Linked DNA regions of Homo sapiens: regions 2, 3 and 4 are each linked to region 1. Evidence: promoter capture Hi-C in 16 types of primary human blood cells and fetal thymus (Javierre and others, 2016). All regions are on one chromosome and are shown on one strand. Each heading gives the region's core, a stretch centred on a gene start or on the middle of the fragment in contact. The rest is flanking DNA. Distances are from core to core; before and after follow the strand shown. Region 1 holds the start of FNDC3B (fibronectin type III domain containing 3B). Region 2 overlaps PLD1 (phospholipase D1). Region 3 overlaps PLD1 (phospholipase D1). Region 4 overlaps FNDC3B (fibronectin type III domain containing 3B).

Evidence for each region. The method cuts DNA at HindIII sites, captures the fragments that hold promoters and counts their contacts. A CHiCAGO score of 5 or more calls a contact.
Region 2: a contact is called between a fragment that was not itself captured here and the fragment with the promoter of FNDC3B in region 1, in 1 of 17 cell types (neutrophils). The highest score is 5.3, in neutrophils.
Region 3: a fragment that was not itself captured here is called in contact with the fragment with the promoter of FNDC3B in region 1 in 1 of 17 cell types (neutrophils); the score reaches 8.8 in neutrophils.
Region 4: a fragment that was not itself captured here is called in contact with the fragment with the promoter of FNDC3B in region 1 in 14 of 17 cell types (neutrophils, M2 macrophages, M1 macrophages and 11 more); the score reaches 18.1 in neutrophils.

The regions. Positions count from the first base shown.
Region 1 is chr3:172,038,180-172,041,169 of GRCh38, forward strand. It overlaps FNDC3B (fibronectin type III domain containing 3B), which reads left to right and starts at 1,399. Exons shown (of 26, transcript NM_022763.4): 1 at 1,399-1,592. RefSeq lists enhancers at 1,219-1,886, 1,887-2,553 and silencers at 1,472-1,651, 1,792-1,891, 2,072-2,321, 2,382-2,751. The HindIII fragment of the contact is 7,479 bases long and covers 1-2,990 here.
Region 2 is chr3:171,735,561-171,738,550 of GRCh38, forward strand. It overlaps PLD1 (phospholipase D1), which reads right to left. Exons shown (of 27, transcript NM_002662.5): 2 at 2,332-2,522; 3 at 1,972-2,099; 4 at 1-77. The coding sequence starts at 2,491. Among named protein-coding and RNA genes, the nearest start is that of PLD1, 73 kb to the right of the region's middle. The HindIII fragment of the contact is 2,716 bases long and covers 132-2,847 here.
Region 3 is chr3:171,765,103-171,768,092 of GRCh38, forward strand. All of the region lies in intron 1 of PLD1 (phospholipase D1), which reads right to left. Among named protein-coding and RNA genes, the nearest start is that of PLD1, 44 kb to the right of the region's middle. The HindIII fragment of the contact is 1,386 bases long and covers 873-2,258 here.
Region 4 is chr3:172,297,572-172,300,561 of GRCh38, forward strand. It overlaps FNDC3B (fibronectin type III domain containing 3B), which reads left to right. Exons shown (of 26, transcript NM_022763.4): 9 at 1,157-1,216. Among named protein-coding and RNA genes, the nearest start is that of GHSR, 150 kb to the right of the region's middle. The HindIII fragment of the contact is 4,891 bases long and covers 1-2,990 here.

The DNA of each region.
Region 1 (2,990 bases), core at 149-2,648:
GGCTGAAGGCATGGCACCTGAGGAAGCCAAAGAGTCTGGAGCCAGAGAAGGCATTTGGACTCAAATGGGATCTATTGGATTGTACCCTATTGGCACTAAGGAACTACTGCCTACCCCCCGCCCCGGCTTCTCATGCAGGACTATGACCTAGAATTGGAGTTATGTTATAGAAAGATGGCTTCAAGTTCCCCTTTGAGGAGCTCCACAGTAAATAAGCCATTTAGGAGAGAGGTCCCCATTTCTCTGGACTCACCATTGCCTCCAAAAAAAAAAAAAAAAGGCTAAAATCTCCCCAAAAGAATGGCAAATGAACAAGGGAAGGAAGGAGCTATTTCTTAGTGTTCTTTAGACTTTAACAGAGTATTATGTACTGCTATTATTATTTTTTAGGTTAACAAAAGTAATACATTGTCTCTAGTGACTCCCTGAATGCTCCTTTGTAGCTTAATAGTTGAGGCTGAATGTAGCTATTCAGAATACCTGGACAGCTATGGATGGAAGGGGCTTCTCTAGGCTAACTTTTGCTCTCTTGTCTCCTGAATAATCTGAGGGGTGGCATGGGATGCAGTCTGTTAACCTCTTAGAGCCTGTACAACAGAAATACATTACATTTGACTTAATATGAACTCAACAGTTATTTAATGAGTCCTATTGTGGTCCTTGCACTGTGCTATATTTTACGGATATAAAGATAAAAGTAAGAAACAGTCTTTGTCCCTGAGAAACGCATTGTGAAATAAGGCTGGGTGAGTTGGCTCACGCCTGTAATCTCAACACTTTGGGAGGCCAAGGCGGGAGAATCACTTGAGCGACAGAGTTCCAGACCAGCCTGGGCAACCTATTGAGACCCCCTCTCTTCCAAAAAAGGAAAAAAAAAAAAAAAAAAAAAGGGTGCGGTGGCTCATGCCTGCCCCGTGCCTGCAGTCCCCAAAACAAACAACAACAACAACAAAAAACAAAAAACAAAAAGAAAGAGGAAAGAGAGATTTTAACTTAAGTATAATAAAAATTGCTCATACTATGTTAGTTGTATGAATAAAATGCTGTGGGAAATGTGGGAGTAATATAGCTCACAAGGTTGCTGTGGGGGTTAACAACAACAAAAAGCGAAATATATGTGTAAATGAAAAAAAGTCAGTTTTAGGCTTAATTATCACTGAGTAAACATTGCCTTTATATTACTTTGGCGATCTGCAGAACGCGCAGCCCTCGCCATTCAGGAGTTGTTAGTTCCCTAAGCCTCAGGTTTCTTTAGTCTGGCTGAACCAAAAGGAGTTTCTGCTTAGCTAGGCAGGGCCGGGGGACAACAGCTTCTGCGAGTCTGCGATTGTGGCGGCCGGTATATTCGGCGGTTTACGGTAATGGGCGGGCCCCAAATCCCCATGTGGTCCCGACATCATTGACATGGCGGAATCCCCCATCAAACCCTCCTGGTAGTTATTTGAGCGGCGGCGGCGGCGGCTGGAGGAGGAGAGCGGCGGCGGCGGGAGCAGCGAAGGGGGCGGCAGGGATCCTCCAGGCTGCCGGCTGGGAAGGCGTGGGCGACCCGGTGTGTGGCGCGCCCAGAGCCCCGCGTTTCAGCCCTAGGGAAGGTAAGGCGTGCAAGAGCCGGGGACTAGAGGAGACCGGGACCCCGAGCGCGATCGCCGGGTCCCGGTGCACTGGAAAGCCCCGGCCTGACGCCGAGTCCGCCAAAGTGCGTCCCTGTCCCGGGAGCGCCCTGGGCTTCCCGGCAAAAACTTGGCGCCGGAGTGCTGGGGCGCCCCGTGCTCGCCTGGGCACCCCGGGAACACGGGACCCGGGAGGGGGCGGCCCCCGCCTTGCTGGGCTGGGGTCCCCCGCCTGTGCCCCCTGCCTCAGGGTTTGGAGGAGTGAAAGAAACGGGTAGATTCCTCTTAAAAAAAATTGGGCAGTGGCTCGCGGCCTCCCCCCACCCCCAGCCTTCCCAGCAGATTTTGTCCGAGGAATCCGCTCCCCCTCCCGGAATCTCCGCGGCAGGAACGCTGCCCAGGAGGGGGAGGGCGGGCGGCGAGGCCGAGGAATCTTCGACGTGTCACTTTCTGAGGCTGTAGATTTCCATATGGTGGAGGGAAGAGGGCGGGAGTGCGAAGTGGGGCTGGAAGTTGGGGCCGCCTCTCCGCGCCGGCGGGGGCGGTCGGGGGCCTCGAACCCGGGGATGCTCGCGGGGAGGGTCCCGAGCCCGCGCCGGCCTGGCCCCCCCGTCCCCGGCTGGGCCTCTCCGGGACACTCCCCGCCCCGCTGCTGGCCACCTCCGAGCACGCCACGTCCTCCTCCCCGTCCTGCCCCCCGGGCTCCCCCCGGGCTGGGGGCGGTAACCGGCGGCCGCGGCCGGACTTGGCGAGCCGGCGGCTGGAAGCTCGGGCGGGGGAGCGGGGCGCGGCGGGAAGGAGCGGGCGACCCGGTGTGTGGGCCAGCGGAGCTCCGGTCAGTCGGTCACCCCGAGGGGCGCCTCGGCCGGGGATAGGGCGGGCGGGCGGAATCTGCGCCCCGAGGCGGCCAGGAGGGGCCGCGCGGACCGTCTGGTGCCCGCGGCTGGGCTGGGGCCGGCAGGCGTGGGAAGGGCCTGTCACTCTCGGCAGAAAGTGGGGCCTCGGGCTGTGCCCGCGAACTTTCCCAGAGGTCCGGGTCCCGGCGTCCCGTGGGAACCGGAGGACCCGGGCCCGCCGTCTCGGGAGACTGGGCTGCGCCGCCCGGCGGCGCCTTTGGCGGGGAGGCTTCCAGGAGTGCGCGGTCGGAGTTGGAGCTTTTGGAATCTCAGCTCCCACCCTGCCATCCCAGACGAAGGGAAGCAATGGCATTTTATCCAGACAGTGCCGTTTGCAGACTTCCTTAAAAGTTATAACTTTTTGTTTTCTTTTCTCCTCAACCCAGCATTTTATTTAAACAAAATTTAGAATTTGGCCGCAATGGGCCAACGCTGGGGCCAAAAATCCACAGGTTTCTCTCTCCATCCCTGCTGGTTTCTAGTC
Region 2 (2,990 bases), core at 240-2,739, 300 kb before region 1:
TGCTTGAATTTCCTCTTAACTTGCCATTTAAATTCCCCATGTGTTAATTCAATAGTGTAAAGATTAATACTTGGTACCTACAGTGATACATAAAAATGTTTGATATTTTAGATAACAACAAAAATTCCAAAAGCTTTCAGTGAACAATATTTAACTAGTAACAGAGAAGTATACTTAAGTCCAGCCTACTTATTTTGTGTAAGTACTTAAGTAAATTTGTTTCAAAAGCAGCCAATTGCAGAAATAATATTCTCTAAATGTTCACTTGATGAATTACATAAGACAAACTTTCAATCACACGAGACGATTCCTACAAACGCTGTTCCTCCAACATATGTGCGTGTATGCATCCACGCACACACACACCTGAAATGAAGAACTAGGTGGAGGAGACAATGAGAAAGGCCCTAATTAGCCTTCAGGGGTCCAGTCCACAAATATAAGCCGTGCACCAGGCAATTGGCAGGGGTGAGACGTATTGTATACTAACAGCACCATCTTGGCTGTTTTTGTTCTTCAGAAATGGCACGACATGCCTTCTCTCCTTCTCTTGTGAAACACATTCCAAGGTCCAGCCTTGTCTATACCACCCACCCACCCTAAGGAACCACCAGTGTTAAGGAGGGGTGGGTGGAAAAAGTGACTGCAGTAATGAGTATACAGTGTATACTTGTATAATATAATACATATGTATTATTATTACTAAATCTTTGTAATAAACCTATAATGTAAGCACTGTTATACCCTTTATTCAGAAGAGGAAACAGGAACAGAGAGGTTAAGTCACTCATTCAAGATCACAAGGCAAAGATGAATTAAACCATGCAGTCTGCCTCTAGAGTCTGTCATTTACCCCCACATGTTATTATCTTTCAATCTAAATGCTGGCAGGTGAAATAAGAAAACAAAGCTCATCTTAGAGACATTTCTGAGGGAGTTGTGCTCAGTGGTGTATCAGGGAGACATGGACCCGAGTCACAGGGAAAGCCTAAACCAGAGGCTGACACCAAAATGAGTGTAAGCTGGGAGTCAGTACATGTGCAGGTAGGCTGGGACACAGCACCAGGCAAAACCACCCAGAAAGCAATGCAGCGCATGCCACCTCCAAAAGACAAGGAGGAAGGGAAGGCAAAGCATGCCCTGACAGCTGGTTATTAATCTGTGCTTCCCCTGAGGCAGGAGGCAGTGGTGGCCTTACTCTGCCATGGCTAGATCTTAGCCTGAAGGGACAAAGGTCACCACCCTGCAGCAATTGTCCTCCCCCGGAGACTTAACAACTGCAAAATCCAGCCAGGAACAGAGAAAAGTAGCTACCCTAACAGCTTCTTCTAGTCCAATCCATTTCAAAGGGCATAACTTTGATTGTTGAAGACATTTTACTCCAAAGCCTTTTCAGCGTTCAGTGAAATATCACGTGAATGAGGACTAAAGGATGGTTTTCTAGGAACCAATCAGAGAGGCAGAGTATGGCTGCAGAATTCTCTCAACAGTATTTTGAGGTAATGGCACTGGCCGATCCAGTATCCCGGCTTTTTTTCTTAAGAGCCAGGTAGCACCAACATTTTCATGCTAAATAAACATTAGGAAAGCTAAAATTCTTGTTGACTTATACCTGCCATGCAAGGTGGAATAAATATGCATCAAGAGTCCAAATGAAACAGAAAACTGGGGAGAGAAGAAGATTAAGAGAGGCACTTTGCAATTTATTAAACTGTTAATTTGCCTTACATGCCTTTTTAAAAGAAAGAGCTTTGGCTCAAATGAAGAAAGAGGAATATAAGAATGAAGATTAAATGGGAAGGAGGCAAAAACTTGACAGGTGAAAATGACTTGGAAATGATAGATACATAAAAACAAACAAACAAAAACCTACAAACATGATCATAGCTAAGAGGGAGGAAAATGAAAGGCTATGTACTAATTCACATATATTGACAAAAGAAAAAAGGGTGAGTCCATAAACGCTCTGACCCTTGTTGTAGATGTGAAGCGTTCCACTTCCAGAACTTGTGCTTTTATTGGACAGCCGGAGAGATACGTCTGTATATTAGGCTCCTTAAATCCTTGAGTGTTATAAATAGCAGAGAAAGGGATATACACTAAAAAAAAAAGTAAATAAAGTTAATGCAATATATGATTAGCATAACTTGTCTTTTACAGGCATTCTTTTAAGAATCACGTGTTAAAACAAGTAAGCCTCTTATAAAATGATCTGAGCCCGGTGTTACATCTGCAAGGAAAATCAATCATTTGCTGGTTACTTCAAATTTGTGGTCTTCCGACCAACCGAGATAAACTCTTTTCTTCCCCGCTCAGATCATCCGTCTTTACCTTCTTGTATCTTGGGATCGCTGGGAGACACGTCGTAGTCTACCTCCTCTCCCTCAAAGTGGAGTTCCCGCGTGTCCAGATTTTCTATGATATTACTCATGTCAGCAGCAATTTTCTGCAGTGCAGAGGTATTTACCCGTGGCTCGTTTTTCAGTGACATGTTAACTTTGGACAGAGTAAAAGCAAAGGGGCTAGGAAAGAAGAAAACGGTTACAAAGACTTAGCATTTTGATAACATAAAATGCTATTCCACAATTTGAATCCAGACTTAGATACAGCATATGGAAACAATTCAGCCTGCTCTGTGTGAGCCTCAGTTATCCAAAACAACCTTTTAGTTTACGTTCCTGTTTAACATTTAAAGGATTCCTAACTTGTAAATTAAAACAGAGTGCTTAATTGAAAACAAGAGAAAAAAAAAAGAAAAAAAAAAGCAACACCACATTGAATGCCAACATTTCTCTCATCCAACTTTATTAACTTGGATAAGTAATTCAAGGGAGATTGGTTTGGGAAAGCTTATTCAGAGAAAGAAATAGATTATTTGCTGTAATAAATACAGCTGAAGAAAGAATATCATGAAAAATAAGCAACTCTAAATATTTCCTAAAGAAAATTTAGAGTATTTCACATATTGAAATATATAGATTTAGAAATAT
Region 3 (2,990 bases), core at 316-2,815, 270 kb before region 1:
TGAAAATGTTTAAAAAATGGACTATAGTTATGGTCACACAACTCTGTAGATATTCAAAAAACCAATGAATTGTATACTTTAAAGGGCTTAACTTGATGATCTGTAAATTATACAATATCAATAAAGCTGTTAAAAAACGATTTCCAGAGCTCAGTATCAAGTGTTCTCTAGTCACTCCATGAGGCTGCCGTCTTCCAGAACAAACATAGTAACCAGATGTGTGTAAAGTAAGCTTGTACCCAAGAACAAAATGTTCCAACAACAATGATGAGAGTAATGAGCATGCTGGTGAAGTTGGTAGGTCTTCCTAGGAAGCAGTTATCAGCCTACCGCCTCTTTTTCAAACATCATTAGGTAAGTTCTGAATGGTGTTAGCTTTGAGTTTTTACCAACCTAGGAGAAATGGAAATAAAATTTCATTCATCATTACTAAAGTGTGTGAAAACGAGCAGAATATTATAAAGAGCAGCAGAGGGGGAATCAAAGGACCCCAAAAGCTTCCATTCGAATCTACTACGACCTTGTAGACTTGAGGACTCAATCATTTTGGGCTTCAGTGACTTGATCTGTAAAATGAGGAAGGGGAAGTATGAAGTCAGCTACTCTAAGGTTTTCTTCTGTCTTCAGCATTCCAGTCAAATCGTCCCTTCTAAGGATTGTCTTGGTATGCTGACTTGTCCCTTTCATCACATCATCAACTGCGTTTAGACCAAAGAATTGTTATCCAGACATCTGGACATATTGAAAATCTCTCAAAGAATCTTTCCTGGACTGATGTTTCAGGTATTTACATGAACTTCCTCCGTATCCTTTATTAAATACACTATCTACCTTATAGTTTAATTAGCTATAAAAACCTAACTGAAATTTTAAGCTTGACACAGAAAAGTCAAAAAGGTGTTTCCTAACATGATGTATAAGGGCAGCAATATAATTGTTCTCCAAAGTAAAATGATTCTGTCCTTTATAAAAATTCATTTTACCTCAACTCTAACCTGTCACTTCTAATCAATTTTAATTTTTATTATAAAAATGATAAATTCTCATCTAAGAAAACCTTAAATATATACAAATTTGAGGAAATTAAAATCAGTTTTAGAGCCAATACCTTAAATAGATTAAGAGTAATGTTAGTCTACTATTTCTACTATTATATGTTGGTATAGTCTCACTTTTTTCTCCATGAATAGTTTTTCCCTTTTTTAAAATGAATATAAAGTAATCATGTTTAAAATACCAATATGTAGAAAAGTATAAGAAGAAAATATAAATCATCAGAAATCCCACCTTCAAAATAACCCCTAAATCCCTATTAACTTAAGGTGATCATCCGTTCTATTGTCTCTGTAAGCATAACACACACATAGAGAGGTATATTTTAAACACATTCAGATGTGTGATGGAGAGATAGTTTAATATCCATTATTTTTACTTAAATATCTATCATCACCATTTCCTCCTATTACAATTTTCCATAAATAAAATTGTGATGGTCCGTCATGCAATTTTCTTCTGCTACTTTATGTTTTTATTATTTGCAACTTTTCATGGTAATAAATAATGCTTCAATTAACATTTTTATACTTAAAGCGTCTACACTCCTACCTAGAAAATTTAAATCTATTGACTTTTTCCTTTTGTGATTTCCTCTATTGATTTTGGGAAGAGAAAGTGCTTACCCATTCAAAGATCAGAATTTTTATTTTTTCGTTTCTTTTCTTTCTTTTAAGTTAGCTCCTTAATCTGTCTGGGTTATCTTGTTCTATATTGTTAAAGGTTCTAAACTTATTTGTAACACGTTTAAATTTTAGCCAAATTGGGTAGAAGTTATTTGCCCAATATTTTTCAAATGCACATTTATGTCTTTTAAAAAAATATATGTCTCATAATCTTGGTTATCCACTAAACTTAAGGAAACCTTCAAGACTGCCAAATAACCAGAGCTTTGATTACTAGCAGGAAGTCATACTGGGCAGAAATAAAGAGGACACTCCTACTGGCCAAATTAAAACTAAACAATCAGAAAAGTCCAAGTTCCTAGCTTTAGTGGCTTTATTATTTTAGCCTTAAAAAGTCTCTAAAATCCCAAAAGTAGCTTAAGTGTTTAAAAGACAGTATTCAATGCAGTGGGCTATTCTCCATACGGCCTGGCCACTACTGGTCTCATTTACGGGCCATGGGCAACCTCTATATCCTGCCATTGGTCACCAGGTTCTTGCCACTGGTCACGAGCAGAGTAGGTGAGAAAGTGGAGCACAAGCTTACCAACCCAAGTAGAGAAAGGACACCAATGGCTTGCCTTGCTGGTTGACAGTAAGTCAACAGAGCATCTTCTAAATGAAGAGCAGCACAGATGTCAGTATCTACATGGTTGTTTCTCAATAATAAGTACTGGGTTATATTGGACATAATACAATCCAAAATGTATTAGGTTGTATTTTTTTCTTATATTTTTCTAATATTGGATTCTATTTTCAGTTCTTCCCCCTCCACAGCACCTTCTGATGCACAACACTGTCATAGCTGCCTACTAGTTGCTCTGACTTAGGTCAATCTAACTTTCTTGAATAGTTTCCTCAACTGTAAAATGGAGATAATAAAGAAAATCAACAACTTAAGGTTGTTGTGAGGATTAAGGAAAAGGCTTAGAACAGGCCGGGCATGTTTACAAGGCTCATGCCTATAATCCCAGCATTTTGTTTACATGGCTCATGCCTGTAATCCCAGCATTTTGGGAAGCCAAGGTGGGAGGCTGACTTAAGACCAAGAGTTTGAGGTTGCAGTGAGCAGTGATCGTGCCACTGCACTCCAGCCTGGGCAACAGAGTGAGACTCTGCCTCAAAAAAAAAGAGAGGGGGGCTGGGGCTTAGAACAGTGACTGCACTTAGGAAATGACTTTTATGTGTTCATTATTATTATTATTATTATTATTATTACCACTATTCTACCACTTCTGCTATGACTATTACTACTAACTGGGGTAGTACTAC
Region 4 (2,990 bases), core at 161-2,660, 260 kb after region 1:
TCACGCCATTCTCCTGCCTCAGCCTCCTGAGTAGGTAGGATTACAGGTGCCCGCCACCACGCCCGGCTAATTTTTTGTATTTTTAGTAGAGACGGGGTTTCACCGTGTTAGCCAGGATGGTCTCGATCTCCTGACCTCGTGATCCGCCCTCCTTGGCCTCCCAAAGTGCTCGGATAACAGGCGTGAGCCACCGCGCCCGGCCTTTTTTTTCATAAGTTTTATATGTAATGGTCCCTTACTACAAAATACTTCAGGATATTTCCTATAAGAATTTTTTTAAAGAACCACAGTGTAATTATAACTTCATAAACTTACATTGATATGATACTTTTATCTGTTGTCTATATTCCAGCTTTTGTCGCTTGGTCTATAAATAATGCCTGTTATATTTTGAAAAATTGGGCAGTTTTCACCCCTTCCCGCGCAGGAGCTAGTCTAGGGTCATACAGTACCTTTAGTTGTCATGTCTCTTTAGCCTTCTTTAATTTGGAACAATTCCACAATATTTCTTATACTTTTATGACACTGATATTTTTGAAGAACACAAAGTAAGTCACATGCACACACACCTTTAACCTTTTTAAAAATTTTCAATAGAACATTCCTTATTTTGGTTGGTTACTTCCTCATGATTTAAGGTGAGGTTCAGTTGCAACTTTTGAGGACATAAATGGTTTTATTTTATTGAAGAGAGCTATTTGTTCGGTGCATTGGTAAGTGAGGAAGTGAGATTGTGATTTTTCTTAAGACAGTCCAGAGTTGAGATAATTGAGGTTCCTGCCAAGGTAAGTGTGGAAAGTGCCTTCTGTTAACAGCTGGTATGATCATTTTTATTCATTTGTTTGTTCATTCATTCATTTGCTTACTTAGTTACTTATATGTATTTACTCGTAAGAAGTGATAAGATCTTTTAGAATTTTATTAGTAAGTTAACCATGCCATTTTCGAGATCTAAGATGGCATCATTAAAAAGAACCTGATTTTCTAGTCCCAAACAAATAATAATATCAAATAAGAAAGTTTATTTCTGGTTTATGGTGGAATCTGACATAATAGTTCATGAATTATTGTCAGTACATTACTGGACACCCAAATTCCAAATCTCGTTTGCTTTTGAAACTGGAATTAGCAACTAATGAATGCTTTTTCTTTACAGTGGAGAAGAATTAGAATGTAACCTGAAAGATCTTAGACCAGCAACAGATTATCATGTGAGGTGAGTTAGGATATAAGAGCCAAACTGTATTGGAGAATCCAGGTGGCTAAAGCAAAAACATGTACTCCCTTTTAAGTTTTTGGTGAATGTTGCTTACCTTGCTGAAAGTTGTAGAACCATGGCTTATGGGCCATTCATTGACTCTCAAGAGCATCGTAACTGGGAAGACACAGAAGCGCTTCTGTGAACAGAAAAGTAGGTGTTAAACACTGAAAATCATTTTAAACATTTTAAAAGTAATTTTACATGGTCTTCTAAGATCTATTGGACTATGGTTTAACAGTTTCTTTCTGTAAAACAAATGAAACTTTTGTCACCATGGGCATATCATTGTTTCTTATAGACCATCATATAAACTGTTTATTCAGACCAAATGACTGAAGAAGCCCTTTCCATGTTGCAAGCACACCGTTAGACCTTAAAAGCTGGTAGATTTTGAAAAAGACAAGTAATACAAGCATCAAATTATCTCTGATGAGAATTAACTCAATTTGGCTAAACAGTTAACCCATGTGGCATAGTATGTAGCCTGAAATCTCTCCTGTGATTTTCTGGAATCTCTACTGTGACTACTCTGGAAGGTAGGGCTAGCTTATTTTAGGAAGAAACCCAGCCAACCACAGATCTGTAAGGAGGAAAGTGTTATCTGAATTTTTTAGAGAGACCATCTGATTATTTAAAGATACATCCATCTATTTATTTGCCAATAAGAAGGTCTGAATATGACCCATAACACTAAAAAAACTTTTTTTTAATCTTTATTTTATCTAATATTTAAGTTCCCCAGAAAATATAGTTTTATTTAACTGGATGTACAACAACACATTGTTTCCCTTTTTTTTTTCAATTATATATGCATACATAAAGATTGCAGAATAAAATTGTAAGCATGAAATATACATCTATTACTATACTTTCCAAAGGTTAATTTACATCATGAGTTTCTTTGTGATTTCGGGATGAGGTTGGAGGCAAGGTAGCCTAGTAGGAAGAGCGTATATGAATTACCAGGAGGCTTGAGTGTGAGTCTGGTTCTGCCCTGAACGGGCTGTTTTAACTTTGGTCAATTCACATAGAACGCTCTGCCATGATTTTCTCAGTTAAAAAAAAGGTAGTAAAGCAAGGATGTGCGTTGAGGATGTAATATCTTATTAGCTGCATAAGTTCTTAAAAATAAGTTTAAAGTAATGTATATCAGAGTAAGTTGTTTTGTTTTAAGGCATAAAGTGCACATCTGCTCAGCTATCATATTGTTTAGATGAGCTCTCTTGCAACCATCTCCTCCTGTTTAAATCAAAACTTTGGATTTTGAGTCAATTAGCTTCCGCCCAAACGTATTGAGCTTTTCACACACTCTGTACAAGAAGATCTGTGTAATTTGTGAAGCTAAGATGATAATAGAAATGGTTTAACCATTATTCAAAATGGTCAATTTAACAACAAACCAGAAAATGTAAAACCAGAAAATGTAAAAGTCATGTAAATGTTATCTATTATTCATTGTTAACATATGTTTCTTTCTGCTCCGTGCTTTAACAGTTTATTGTTCCTGTGGTTAGTAAAGGTTTACTTTATTAATTTCCTGCTCATTCATGAGCTTACAATATCCTTTTTAAGAAACTTAAATGTTATGAAGAGTCTTCTCTTTATTTACCATCCTGTCTGTTGTTCCATTTATTTTTTTTTTAAACCCTTATTACAAAGGGTAAATTTGAGAACACTTGCTCATCAGCTATTTTTACCGACAAAACCTATGAACATCTTGAACTTCTGG